Linked DNA regions of Homo sapiens: region 1 is linked to region 2. The links are contacts of gene promoters, found by promoter capture Hi-C in human tissues and cell types (Jung and others, 2019). All regions are on one chromosome and are shown on one strand. Each heading gives the region's core, a stretch centred on a gene start or on the middle of the fragment in contact. The rest is flanking DNA. Distances are from core to core; before and after follow the strand shown.

Evidence for each region. The method cuts DNA at HindIII sites, captures the fragments that hold promoters and counts their contacts. A contact is called where the count stands out against the background at its distance.
Region 1: a contact is called between a fragment that was not itself captured here and the fragment with the promoter of SLC45A1 in region 2, in 2 of the 25 tissues and cell types used here (IMR-90 fibroblasts and aorta).

The regions. Positions count from the first base shown.
Region 1 is chr1:8,361,039-8,367,385 of GRCh38, forward strand. RERE (arginine-glutamic acid dipeptide repeats) reads right to left here. Exons shown (of 23, transcript NM_001042681.2): 13 at 4,774-4,936; 14 at 3,708-3,800; 15 at 3,018-3,217; 16 at 1,645-1,806; 17 at 725-838; 18 at 1-452. Among named protein-coding and RNA genes, the nearest start is that of SLC45A1, 46 kb to the left of the region's middle. RefSeq lists an enhancer at 3,623-4,593 and a silencer at 6,302-6,347. The HindIII fragment of the contact is 5,449 bases long and covers 992-6,347 here.
Region 2 is chr1:8,315,935-8,322,099 of GRCh38, forward strand. SLC45A1 (solute carrier family 45 member 1) reads left to right here and starts at 2,180. Exons shown (of 9, transcript NM_001080397.3): 1 at 2,180-2,252. RefSeq lists a silencer at 2,010-2,289. The HindIII fragment of the contact is 6,823 bases long and covers 1-6,002 here.

The DNA of each region.
Region 1 (6,347 bases), core at 2,466-4,965, 47 kb after region 2:
TGTGGCGAGGGATGCGGCGGGGGATGCGGTGAGGGCGGCCGCTGGGGGTGCAAGGCCGGTGCCTGTTGGATGTGGGTGTGGGGAACAGGCGCTGTGGGAGCCTGTGGCTGGTTAGGGGCCTGGGAGGCCGTGGGGGAGCCCTGTGGGGGAACTGCAGTGGCAGAGGGCGTGGGCCCTGGCGTGGGCAGCTGAGGGGTCCCTGGAGGAGCTGAGGAGGGAGCTGGGGTGACCCCAGTGGGAGCCTGCAAGGCTGGGGGCTGGGCCTGCAGCATCTGCTGCTGGGCTGACGAGTCCGAGTCACTCTCATTGTCCTGGGGGCTGGGGATGCTCGGGGACGTGCTGCGATTGTCCTGGTCGATGTCTTTGGGGTCACTGCTACCCTCATCGTTGACGCTGCGACTGTCTGAACTCTCTCCCTCACCTTCAGATGGCGAGTTGGGCCTGCTGATCTCCTGGAGTCAGAGAAGGGAAGGATGGAAGTCCCAGGAGGGCAGAGCCCTGTCTGCTCTGCACCACCAGTGCCGGACACACAGTAATGTTTGTGCAGATGAAGCAGCAAGCTTGGCTCCGGGACCACAGGTCGTGCCCTGACCCAGCCAGTGTCAAAGGCCACTCCAGCCCCACCCTAGGAGACAGGGCACGGCCACCAACTAGGGAGAACCCCGGCTGGGGGCTTCTGAAGAAGCATTAGCTTTACTCAGCAAGGCTCAGCAGCAAACCTCACCTGCGTTTTTGTCTTCTTGGAGCTGGTCCTGTCAGCCTCCTCCGTATCAGAGGCCACCTTCTCCCGCTGGCGTTTGTTACTCTTAAGAGGGGAAGAGGCTTCCTCCTTCACCTTCTGCAGGGGAAAAGCCCACAAGGAGCAATCAGGCCAAGGGAGACCATCCCATCAGCCTCAGCAAGGAAATGACGGTTTGCAGACACTTTGCTCCCTCATTCTGAGTTCCATCTCCAGGAGCAAAAAGCTCTAGAAGGGTCAACTGGGGCCAAGAAGGAACACGTATCTGGGGGTGGGAATGAGAGCCAGCCCTCTGCACCTGTGGGTTTGCATCCTCAGATTCAAGCAACCATGGACTGAAAATGTAGGCAGGACTGTGATGGTTACATCTATACTGAACGTGCACACAATGTTTTCTTGTCATTATCTCCTGAACTAGACAGTGGAACCACTGTTTAAACTGCATTTACATTGCACTGGGCAGTAGAAGTAACCTAGGGATGATTTAGAGTCTACAGGAGGATGTGACTGGTCACATGCAAACCATGTGTCGATGTATATGAGATTTGAGCACCTGTGGATTTTGGTATCCTGGGCGGTGGAGGCTCTGGAGCCAATCTCTAATGGATACCAAGGGAGGACTGTACTTGGCTCTGGAGGGAGCCGTTCTAACCACTCCCCACACTTTCTGAGAACTTGGGAAGCTTGAGGCAGAGGTGGCCCCCAAGAGTTGGTGCTCGAGCCCCCTTCTCTAGGCCCCCAGCCTTCGGTCTGCAGCCCCTAGGCCAGGACAATGCTGGTGTCCAGACAGGCTCCATGAATGAGCTGCATCCTCGTGTCTGAGGGAGCTGATCACGAATACCAGCAAACCAGTTTTAATGTGAGGGAGGGACAGAGTAGGCCCTACTATCCCCCCAGCACCTGACCTTGGCCGACTTCTTCACTGTCTCTGCTTTACTGTCATTGCTGGAGGTACTGGCAGCGCTGGGGGAGTTCCGGCCGCTGGAGCGGATGTCTTCATTGATGGGTGAGGTGCGACCATCAGGGCTGGCTGGCTGCTTCTTCCGACCACTGCGTAGTGTCGACATCTGCCCACCCAAACCGAAGACTGGTGACACCAGATTCCCAGTCCCCATGTGGACCCACCTGAGCCCAACCCACAGGCAGAAGCCTGAAGGCACACCCTATCAGCCTCTCAGCAAATCCCAGACCTTGGCAAACAACAGGCCGCCCTGCCTGTCCCTGGCTGCATGAAGGTCGGTGTGGAGCTCAGGGAAGAGGTGGGGAAATCAGTGGGCTCACGCCAGAGGGCGGTTCTCAAACCTAAAGCACTCATCCCAAGGGACTGTCCTGAACAACGTGTGCTGGAAATGAACCACACTTTCTGAGCGGCAGAAAGTCGCCTGGGGCCATCTTTAAAGCACCCTACACCCTTTCTGTTTATTCCTCATAACCGTCCATTCTCCCAACCAAACCAAATGAAATCAAACACTTGTGGATTTAATCTGACAGGACAGGAAGTGACCCAAAGAGATGAAGCTGTCAAGTAAAGCAGCTCAGCTCCCCAAGCCGCCAAGCGCTTCAGCATGTTTCTGCAAAGCCATGAGGGCTCAGAAGAGATCAGGAGACAATGGTTCTGGCTGGTTGACCTGCTCCCTTCTGAGTGAGCGGGGGCCGGGCTGCCAGCAGCCTCAACGGCATACAAGGGGCAGAGGAAAGTGGATGGTCCCACCCACCTGCCAGAAGGGGCCATAAGGGAGGCTGAAGGGAAAGACCCTGTCAGTACCCTCAGCCCCAAACCTGGAAAAAGCCTCTCCCAAAGTCCCTGGCACATTTCCAACCTAGGAAACAAAGTCTCTTTATGGGAGGAGCTATGCAGTGAGCAGAAAAATGTATCGGAAGTTTCCAAAACGGGATCAAACATTTAAAAAAAATCACAAACACACTAACACAAAAGAGCCTGCAAGTTTAAAATAGCAGAGATTTGATACAATGGAAGTGACACCACAAGCAGCAGCCTTGGAGAGCAAGAGGGGCCTTGGAGAGCCTGCACTGAGCCAGAAGCTAAGAGCTTGCTACAAAACCCAGAGCAGGATGCCACCCTGGGGCCCCTCGAAGGAGAGAACAGAGAACTCTTCCCAGCCCACAGGCAAGCTACCGCCTCGGGCAAAGCAGCTCCCCTCCAGGACTTTGTCTGGTAAACAAGACTTTCGCTTCCTCCCCCTGGGAGGCTCAAGCCCCCACACATCCCAGGAAACTGAAGAAGTTGCCAGGAGCCCCATGGCCCCAGGGGACTCACCGAGCCCCGACTCCGCCGTGTCCTCATGCTATGCTTCCCACTGAGCCCATCATCCTCTTCCTTGACGGGTTTGAACATAAACGGTGGCGGGTCCACGGGCTTCTCAATGGGCGGGAGCTCACCGTATTTCTTGAAGTGGATGCGACAGTCGGTGCAAAGCAGGATGTTCTCCCGGCCTCCGTGGTGCCAATCTTTGGAGGCTGTGTGAGGGAAGTGGTGGGGGCCAACCTTGGAAACCATCCCTCTCCCTGGGGATGTCTGGGCAGAGGGGCCCTTCTGTGGGCTCTACCCAAACCTGATGCCACCAGCACCATGCAGCCCTGGGCCCCAACACCCCAGGGCTAGTGCTGCCCTGCTCCCCCAAGGCCAGGAGAGGGTTTCAGGGGCATCTGCTGCCCACTTCAACTTGGGGTGCCCAGGAAAAGCTGGCAGCAAGCTCCTGGGAACTACAGTGTCAACCCCCCAATCCCACTCAATCTGTCCTGCCTACCAGTCAGTATTCCATACCGACTGCCAAGCAGAGGAGTAAAGTAAACTAAACATTTCTAACTTTCTCGAATCCCGAAGCACAATGCAAATGTCAAATCAAGTACTGTCCCTGGCAGGTTTCCAGCTGGATGCATGAAATGTTCAGAACATGGAAGTGCTTGTGCCCCCGCCCCGCCCCAGGAGCGTGACGAGGCCACTTACTGGTGGTGAAGCAGTGGCGGCAGGCGTACCCCTTCAGCTCCTGCTCACTGTCCTCACTGTCGAAGTCATCTTCACTGGCTGAACTTAGGTCCACTGGGCGTGGCAGGCACATAGTGGGGGTGGGGGAGACACCATCATGCTCAGCCAAGGCTGGGCCGGTGGGGTGGGGGGGAGGGGGGAACACCTGTGACCTCTGGCCTACTGCAGGTTCTGGCCACCAGTCAGAGCGGCTGGGTGCACAGGCTGAGGTAGGACAGTGTCTGCAAAGGACCACTTCGAGCTCCTCAGTGTCAGTCACCAGGACAGAGGGCCTGTGTGTGAGGCGCCATACCCAAGGGCCTGCCCTGCCACTGATGCCCGTAACGGGTGAGTCTGAACTGGGACAAGCGCGTCCATGCTGCCTCCCTCCCTAATACGCCCAGGCAATCCTGAGAAATTCCAACTTCACCGAGCGCCCCCAACCCGTCCTGCTAGGTGATTTCTAGTCGCCTGCATGCGCAACACCGGCGCCCCTCAGGTTCAGCGTCCCGGGCCAGGACAGAGCTATAAGGCACTTTTGCTACACCCCAGTTTTTTAGGGGTGAGAAGGTGTGGGCTCCAGCATCATTAGATTGTACATCATACTGGGACCAAAAAGAGGATCTTGGTGAAGCAGGAGGAAAAAGAAGAAAGTGTTAATCTGATCTTCTTACAACCAAAAGTGCAATGAGAATTCAAGCAGGACATCAAGTACATCATCTGTCAAATGGAAAACCTTCCCAGGACAAGGCCAAAAACATCCCAGGCCAAGACGTGTATTTTTTGTAAAAACCTAAGATGATGTTGAGTTTATGAGAAATATTTAAATGTACAAATAATGTTTTAAAGTCTCCCTCCTGAATCCTTGTCCTGCTCCCCGCCCCCACCATCGGTCTATGTTTAGGTCAGGCTTCACACATGCACTGGAGCACGGGTGCACACCCCCTCATGCTTCCCGGAGCCATCAGCTCCTACGGGCCCAGAGTGGGACAGGCTGCCCGTGAACAGTCTCCCCTCCGCCCACTGTGATGCCAAGACCCCTACTCACAGAATTCACTGGACGGGGGTCTGGAGGGTGTGTTGACGGGTGTGGACGCGGTGCGAGTCTTAATCCTCCTGAACACGGCCTGCCTGCGGTGCCTACGATGGGCTCGGGAGCTGGCTGCTTCGGGGGTCTTCTTCCAATAGTAATAGAAGGTGATCAGCTCCCCCTGCAGAAGAGAAGGGCTGACTGTGGGGGAGGGCCTGGGGCTTTTCCGTGCCCCACGCACCCTCTCTGCCACAGTGGAAAGCTGGGTGTTTAACAGCTGTGCCAGAGATGAGAATAAAGACCAGTCGCTCCTGGAGTTGGGAGAGGAACTGGGCTTGCCCAAGAAACAGCCACTGAGCTGCCCGTGGACTGCATGAATGGGGCCCGCCTCCTCAGCCCAGCACAGCTTGACTTCCAGACACCAAGAACAAGTACTTGTTGGGTGTCTGCTATGTCAGACCCCACCGCTGTTGTACACATGGGAGGTACACATCATCCACAATGGACGAAAAGGAGAGAAGATTCCTGCCCACGAGGAGCTTACATTCTAGCTGTGTGTGCACGTGAGTCTGTGCATGTGTGTGAACACAACGATGCTTTCTTTACAGTAATGCCAGTGAAATCACACAGGTGTGAGAAGGAAATGCCCGGCCAGTTAGACTCCCCCAGAAACAACCAACCAACCAAAGCAAACTGCCCAGGTGGTGAGGAACCAGGGCCAAACAGAAGGTGGGGAAGAACAGAGACCGCATGCTCAGGAAACTGCTCCACAGCCTCCACCTGGCTCCATCTGAAGGCCCACATCTGACATGCCGGCACGACGTCCAGAGGCAAGGACTGGGCTTGGCAAAGAAAGACTACAAGAGGACAGACACACAGTGGTGCTGATGCAAAGGTGAAATATCACACACCACAAGGTCAGGCTTCTTTTCATGGCCCAGCAGAAACAAAAGCAAGATACCTTTTTGGAAATATAGCAAATGTAAGCTTTTTAAAGAAAGGGCACTTTGGGCACCCCCAGCCCTCAGGGCGCTGCAGGCTGCCATCTCACCCTACACACAAAAGACGATTTCTTAAACATCCCAAGATAAAGTCTCTTTACCTAGAACTGAAAAAAAAAAACAAAAAAAAAAAACAAAAAAAAAAAACCCAAAAAACAAACACAGCCAAGTGAGAGAGCACAGATCACTTGGTTTCCCTCTAATTAAATCAACACTGTAGAAAGTCTATTAGCTTGGCGACTAGATGCTGGGAGTTGTCTTGGAGGTACCTGCACCCTCACTTTGTCTCATCAAACACTGTCTTGTGAATGGAGGAGGCAAAAAGAGAGAGGGGAAAGTGAGAGAGGGGGATGGAAAGACTAGTGTTGGAAGGACTAAAATAGACAAACCAAACAAAGACATGTAGCTGCCACATGACAAACTCACCCATCAGACCAGATTTCATCCAAAACACCCCCAGAGGAAATGGCCTCAGAACACAGTGACAAGAGAGGTGGGCAGATTTTAGGTGGTGGGGTGGCTTCCGCAAGGCAGGGGATGCCGTGCCTTGAGTACTTGACTGCCCACAGCTGCATCTTATGCCTGGGCATT
Region 2 (6,165 bases), core at 930-3,429:
AGATAAAAGAAGCCAGAACCAGCCCCCTCCAGTGGCTCCTTCTCTTCAGCCTGGGCAGGATCTGTTGAAATTCCCATGGTGTCCTCTGGGGCCCTCTGCCCTGCGCCTCTCCCTGGCAGTGCGAGGTCCACAGTTCACCTGCAATTAGCTCCCATGTGCAGGGGACTCATAAAGGAGCATCTTTGAGCTCCAGACCCAAGTGTCTGGTGGCCTAGAGGCTGCGAAGGCCCTCAAGCTCAGCATATCCCAAAGCAAACCTATGGCATTCACTCCAGCACACACCTGCTTTGGCCTCCATGAATCCACTCTCTTCCCTCATCGCTCAAGCTAGAAACTTCTTAGCACCACCCTCGCTGTTCCTGTACCCCCCCACCTTCAGTCAATCATGGAGTCCTAAGTCCCCGGCCAGTCCATCACCTCTCTCCCTCTACCAACACCCCCAACTCTCCCACCTGTGCCACCCGGTACGCCCATGTGGTCCCCTGGTTCCCTCCAATCTGTTTTCACTCTGAGCTTTATGATCTTTGCTAACTGTGAATAGGATTCATGCCATCCACTCCCCTACATAAAACCTTTCTAGGCTTCTCTTTGCTCTTAGAAACTGGCAACTGCCTAAGAGGCCACACCTGGGCCTGTCCCACCTCCCCAGCCCTCACCTCCTTCCCAGGCCTCTGCATCCCTGTCCCCCTCCACTTCCTTTGCAGTGTGCCTCCAGGCCCTCTCCCCTCCGGAGCTCTGCCAGTGCAGAGCTCTCTGAGCCCTCTGTGTGGGACATGCTGTTCTCTCTACTTGGCCTGGTAGGGCTCCTTGAGGAGCCCTCGACCCTCCCAATGGGGTGGAATCCGCCGCGGTAAACTTCCACAGGGCCCCGTGCCCCCACTCTGCAGCGCTTCCCTGGGGTTATTATTCCACTACCAGCTGCATAATTATTTCATCCGTAATTATTGGACTCAGCCCAGCTCACTTCTGCCCCTGGCCTTTGCACTTGCTCTTCCCAGTGCCTGGCGTGACCTTCCCCACACGTCAGTCTGGCTGGCCCCCCTAGCTCCTCAGGTCCTTCTTTTCTTTTTGAGATGGAGTCTCACTCTGTGGCCCAGGCTGGAGTGCAGTGGCACGATCTCAGCTCACTGCAACCCCTGCCTCCCAGGTTCAAGCGATTCTCCTGCCTCAGCTGAGTAGCTGAGATTACAGGCACCCAGCACCACGTGTGGCTAATTTTTATATTTTTAGTAGAGATGGGGGTTTTGCCATGTTGGCCAGGCTGGTCTCGAACTCCAGACCTCAGGTGATCTGCCCCTCTCGGCCTCCCAGAGCGCAGGGATTACAGGTGTGAGCCACCGTGCCCGGCCTGCTCCGCAAATCCTCCTTCTAGTGTCACCTTCCAGGTGAGGACTCGCCAACAACCTGATAGAAACCTGCAAGGCCAGCGCCTCTGCAGCCCCACACTCCCTAACCCCTTCTCTAGGGCATTGCCATCTTCTGACATACCATTTATTTTATGTCTTGTTTAATGTGTGTGTGTCTCTCTCTTAAATGTCATGCAGCCGGGTGCGGTGGCTCACACCTGTACTTTGGGAGGCCGAGGCAGAAGGATCACTTGAGCCCAGGAGTCGAGACCAGCCTGGGCAACATAGCAAGGCCCTGCCTCTCTGTATTTTAAAAAATGAAGTAAATAATAAATACATAAAGTATTTATGTATTTACTTACATTACAAAGTTCCCCCAGGGGCGGGAACTTTGCCTTGTTCTTGCGGCATCCCCAGTGCCTTGGACAGCTCCGGGCCCAGAGTCGCGACGCCTCCAGCAGGCCCGGCTGCCCCACTGCGCACATGGGCACAGGCTTGGCACACGCACTGCGGCATTCACGTATCCGCGAACACATGGGTATCTATTTATACATGAAGACACGAAAATGTATTTATTTCTTTTAAAATCAGAAGAAAACGGTGAGAACTGTGAGGCCGGGGGGACGTTTTCCTCCGGGATCCTGGCAGATCCTGCAGACCGCGCCGTCGTGCGCGAAGCACCGGGACGGGCCTCCCGCGGGAAGGGCCCAGGAGGACACCGGGCTCCCCTCCCGCCCGCGGGGCCCCAGACGCGGCGCCGCTTTAAGGCTCCGGGCCCCGCGCGGATGCGGAGGCTGCGGCCGTGACGTCAGCGCCCCGCCCCGGGTGATGCTGCAGCAGCCGGGACCGCGGCCGGGCAGGCAGCAGCCCAGCGGGGACAGGGATGCCTGCCGTCTCCACCCACAGGTACCACCGTCTCCTCCGCGCCCTCCGCCCGCTCTCTGGCTCCGTGCCTGCCGGGGCGCCGCGCCCTGGGCCCCGGGGTAGTCAGGGCGCCGAGACCGGGACCCGAGGCCGGCACGGAGACCTTTGTTCCTCGTGGAAGTCTCATGAATTGCAGAGTCCACGGAGCTCCCCCGTCTCGCCCCTCCGAGGGCAGGAGCCTCGGGCCCAGGGGAGGGTGCCGGCCAGATGGCAGGTGCTCTCATCCTTGCTGGCAAGGGGAGGAGACCCCGGCCTTGGCCCCAGCTCCTGATGCGCTCCTTGAGCCGGAGGCCTGGTCCCTAGTCACCTGGGCAGGTGTCATCCGCTCCCGGCTCACCTCTTGCGTGGGGCTGAGCCCTCTTGTTGACCAGGGGCCTGGCAACGCCCCTCAGCATCCCAGGGTTACTTAGCGAGGGCACCGAGGACTCCCCTTTCCCGAGCGAGTCAGCACCAAGGGGAACGCGCTGAGGTGGAAGCCGTTCAGCTCCTTCTGCCCTCGACAATCAGCAACTTCTCTAATTATTTCTAGAGTGACAGCCGTGCATGTTTTTCAGCTCTTACAGGGAAGCAGAGTCAGGGGCGGAGGAAAGCCACGTTCAGGCTGCACCTGGCCTGGGCTTTTGGGAAAAGTTGGCCCTGGAGTAGGGGTCAAGCTGCCGGAGATGCAAAGTGGGAAACGGCCACGATTCAGTAACTAGCCTATTAAGTGCACCCTCCCAAGTCCGTAGAGCACCTTCCTGGTCCTGGAGGACCTCACTGAAGAATTTTGAGAATGGGTAGAAAGAAGCATGAGGGGTCGGGCGCGGTGGCTCATGCCTGTAATCCCAGCACTTTGGGAGGCTGAGTCGGGTGGATCACCTGAGGTCAGGAGTTCAAGACCAGCCTGGCCAACATGGTGAAACCCCATCTCTACTAAAAATACAAAATTAGCCGGGCGTGGTGGCACATGCCTGTAATCCCAGCTACTTGGGAAGCTGAGGCAGGAGAATCGCTTGAACCCAGGAGGCGGAGGTTGCAGTGAACCCAGATCATGCCACTGCACTCTAGTCTGGGCGATAGAGTGAGACTCCGTCTCAAATAAACAAATAAGCAAATACGCCCTAGGAAGGGAGGTGGCCCAAGGCAACCCCGTGGGGGGAGCTCATTTTCATAACGAGAAGAAAGAAATGAGGAAATGGTTTCCGCTCGTAGTAGGATCATTGTAAGCATTCAAACTACATTGACATTGATTACTTTTATTAATCATTTGCCGCTTAAACTTCCCACAACACAGTTTGAGGAATCTGTTACTTTAAGCATCCTCTGTACTCTGGAAGCACAGTGGACCCCTTGCATAGCCTTCGGGGGATCCAGGGAGATGAGTGGATTTCCTTTTGACCGAGTAAATGGTCATATGGTACAGTAAAGATGGTCTGGCGAATGTTTGTATTTGTGCATGAAAATTAGATTTTATGATCTTAAATTCCACTTTCACCCATTTTTATGGGAACCTTAAAAATGGATTTTTGTTGTTGTTGTTGTTGTTTTTTGAGACAAGAGTCTCACTCTGTTGCCCAGGCTGGAGTGCAGTGGTGCGATCTCAGCTCGCTACAACCTCCACCTCCTGGGTTCAAGCGATTCTCCTGCCTCAGCCTCCGGAGTAGCTGGGATTACAGGCACTCGCCACCATGCCCAGCTAATTTTTTGTATTTTTAGTAGAGACGGGGTTTCTCCATGTTGGCCAGGCTGGTCTCGAACTCCTGAGCTCAGGTGATCCACCCACCTCGGCCTCCCAAAGTGCTGGCATTACAGGCGTCAGCCACTGTGCCCGGTCTCAAAAATGAGTTTCTAAAATTCTTCTTATGATAAACATTTGTGAACAGTTTTTACTAAATGTAGTTTTAATAAAAATGGTAATGCTGATCCCCAGATTTGAAGATGAATCCTTAGTAAAGACTTCTTCTGAGCCAGGATTAAGCTAGGTTTAATTCTGGTTCAGATGCTAGAGAGAAGTTCATTGAGTGTGTGAGGATCTCCCTTCTGCTAGGACAGGCTGCAGTGGGGTGTGGCGGAGGTGGCAGTAGAGTTGTCCTCTTGCAGGTAGAGAAGTGGGCCGTCTACATAGTCCACTTTAAATAAGGTCAAAGAGGCTCCTCTTTTCAAAAAGACACTTCAGGGGCTGGGAATGGTGGCTCATGCCTGTAATTCCAACACTTTGGGAAGCCAAGGCAGGTGGATCACTTGAGCCCAGGAGTTTGAGGCCAGCCTGGGCAACATGGCGAAACCCCATCTCTACAAAAAAATACAAGAATTAGCCTGGTGTGGTGGTGTGCACCTGTAGTTCCAGCTATTTGGGAGGCTGAGGTGAGAGGATCACCTGAGCCCAGGGAGGTTGAGGCTGCACTGAGCGATGATGACTGCACTCCAGCCTGGGCTAGATAGAGGGAGACTCTGTCTGTCTGTCTGTCTGTCTGTCTCTCTCTCTCTCTCTCTGTTTCTCTCTCTCTCTACACACACACACACACACACACACACACACACACACACACACCTGCCATATGCTGTTTAAAGCTGAAGTTTTTCCAAACTGGGCCACAGTTCTTCATTCCAAATTTAAAGGGAAGGTTTCTAATGCACTTAAGTTCACATTATGGTTAAAATGCTGATTAGAAAGAGTGGGAGATATGCCTGTGTGCCTGCAGGTGGGGAGAGGCTGGGCAGAGGGACAGAAAGGGAGATGGCCACTGAGAGCATACGTGGGGCTGTGACCTTTGGGCGGAGTCCGATCCAACCGTCCACCTCACCTGTGCTGGGTCTCGCCTCTGACTCTGAAGGAGATGGTCTTACACAGTGTTGGAACTGGCGCTCTATTTCTGTGCTTTTGATGAATGAAGCTCCAGGGGATGCTAACTGCTGCTTGGGGTTTTGAAAGGAAGACCTGCCAATCACCAGGTTTTACCATGCAGAAGTGCTTGAGCTAGGCCAGTGAGGAACATAAATAAGCTTAGCTTCTTAAACATGTTAATCTTGATTTACTCCTTATAAATGAATTCTATTTCAAATGAAGTATTACTTGTCTACATGGTTCTTAGGTTCATCTGTTCTCTTCCTACAGGAAAGCGTGGTATTTTCCAAAGCCACAGGATAAGTCTTTTATAGAAGTGACAGGAGACTCTGTCTCTGCTATATCACTCCCTGTCACCTTGGAATAAAACCCATCTCTTAGCAAGGCTTCAAGGCCCTCCATGATTAGCTAAGACCTTCCTGAGGGCTTCATCTCTCACCCCACCCCCACTGTGCCCAACTGTTACTCATATCTGTCTTTTACCCAATGATTCTACCCCCCAGGAAGGCCCTTTCCTCCACCTTTTTACCTAACTCAAGGACAAGAACTGTGTCTTTTATCTCTCTTATCTCAGTGTCTTGGTACTCAGTACTCAGATGAATTGGAGGCTGGGTAGGTGAGTGGGTGGATGAGTAAATGTTTGGAAGGGGGGATAGGTAGATGGGTGAGTGGAAGGATGGATAGAGGAGTGGGTGGAAGAACGGGTCGGTGGATGTGTGGATAGTTTTTGGATAGACAGATGAATAGATGAATGGAAGAGAGGATGTGTGGAAGGATGGATGGGTAGATGACTGAGTGGAAAGATGGATGAATGGATGTGTGGGTGAGTGGATGGAAGAGTGGCTGGTGGATGAATGGGTGCATGGATGGGTGGGTGGATGGATGGATGGATGGGTGGGTGGGTGGATGGATACGTGGATGGGTGGGCAAGTGGATGGGTGGATGAGTGGATGGGTGGGTGGATGGATGGATGGATGGATGGATGGATGGATGGATGGATGGGTGAGTGGGTGGGTGGGTGGATGGATGGATGGGTGGGTGGGTGGATTGATAGGTACATGGATGGATGGG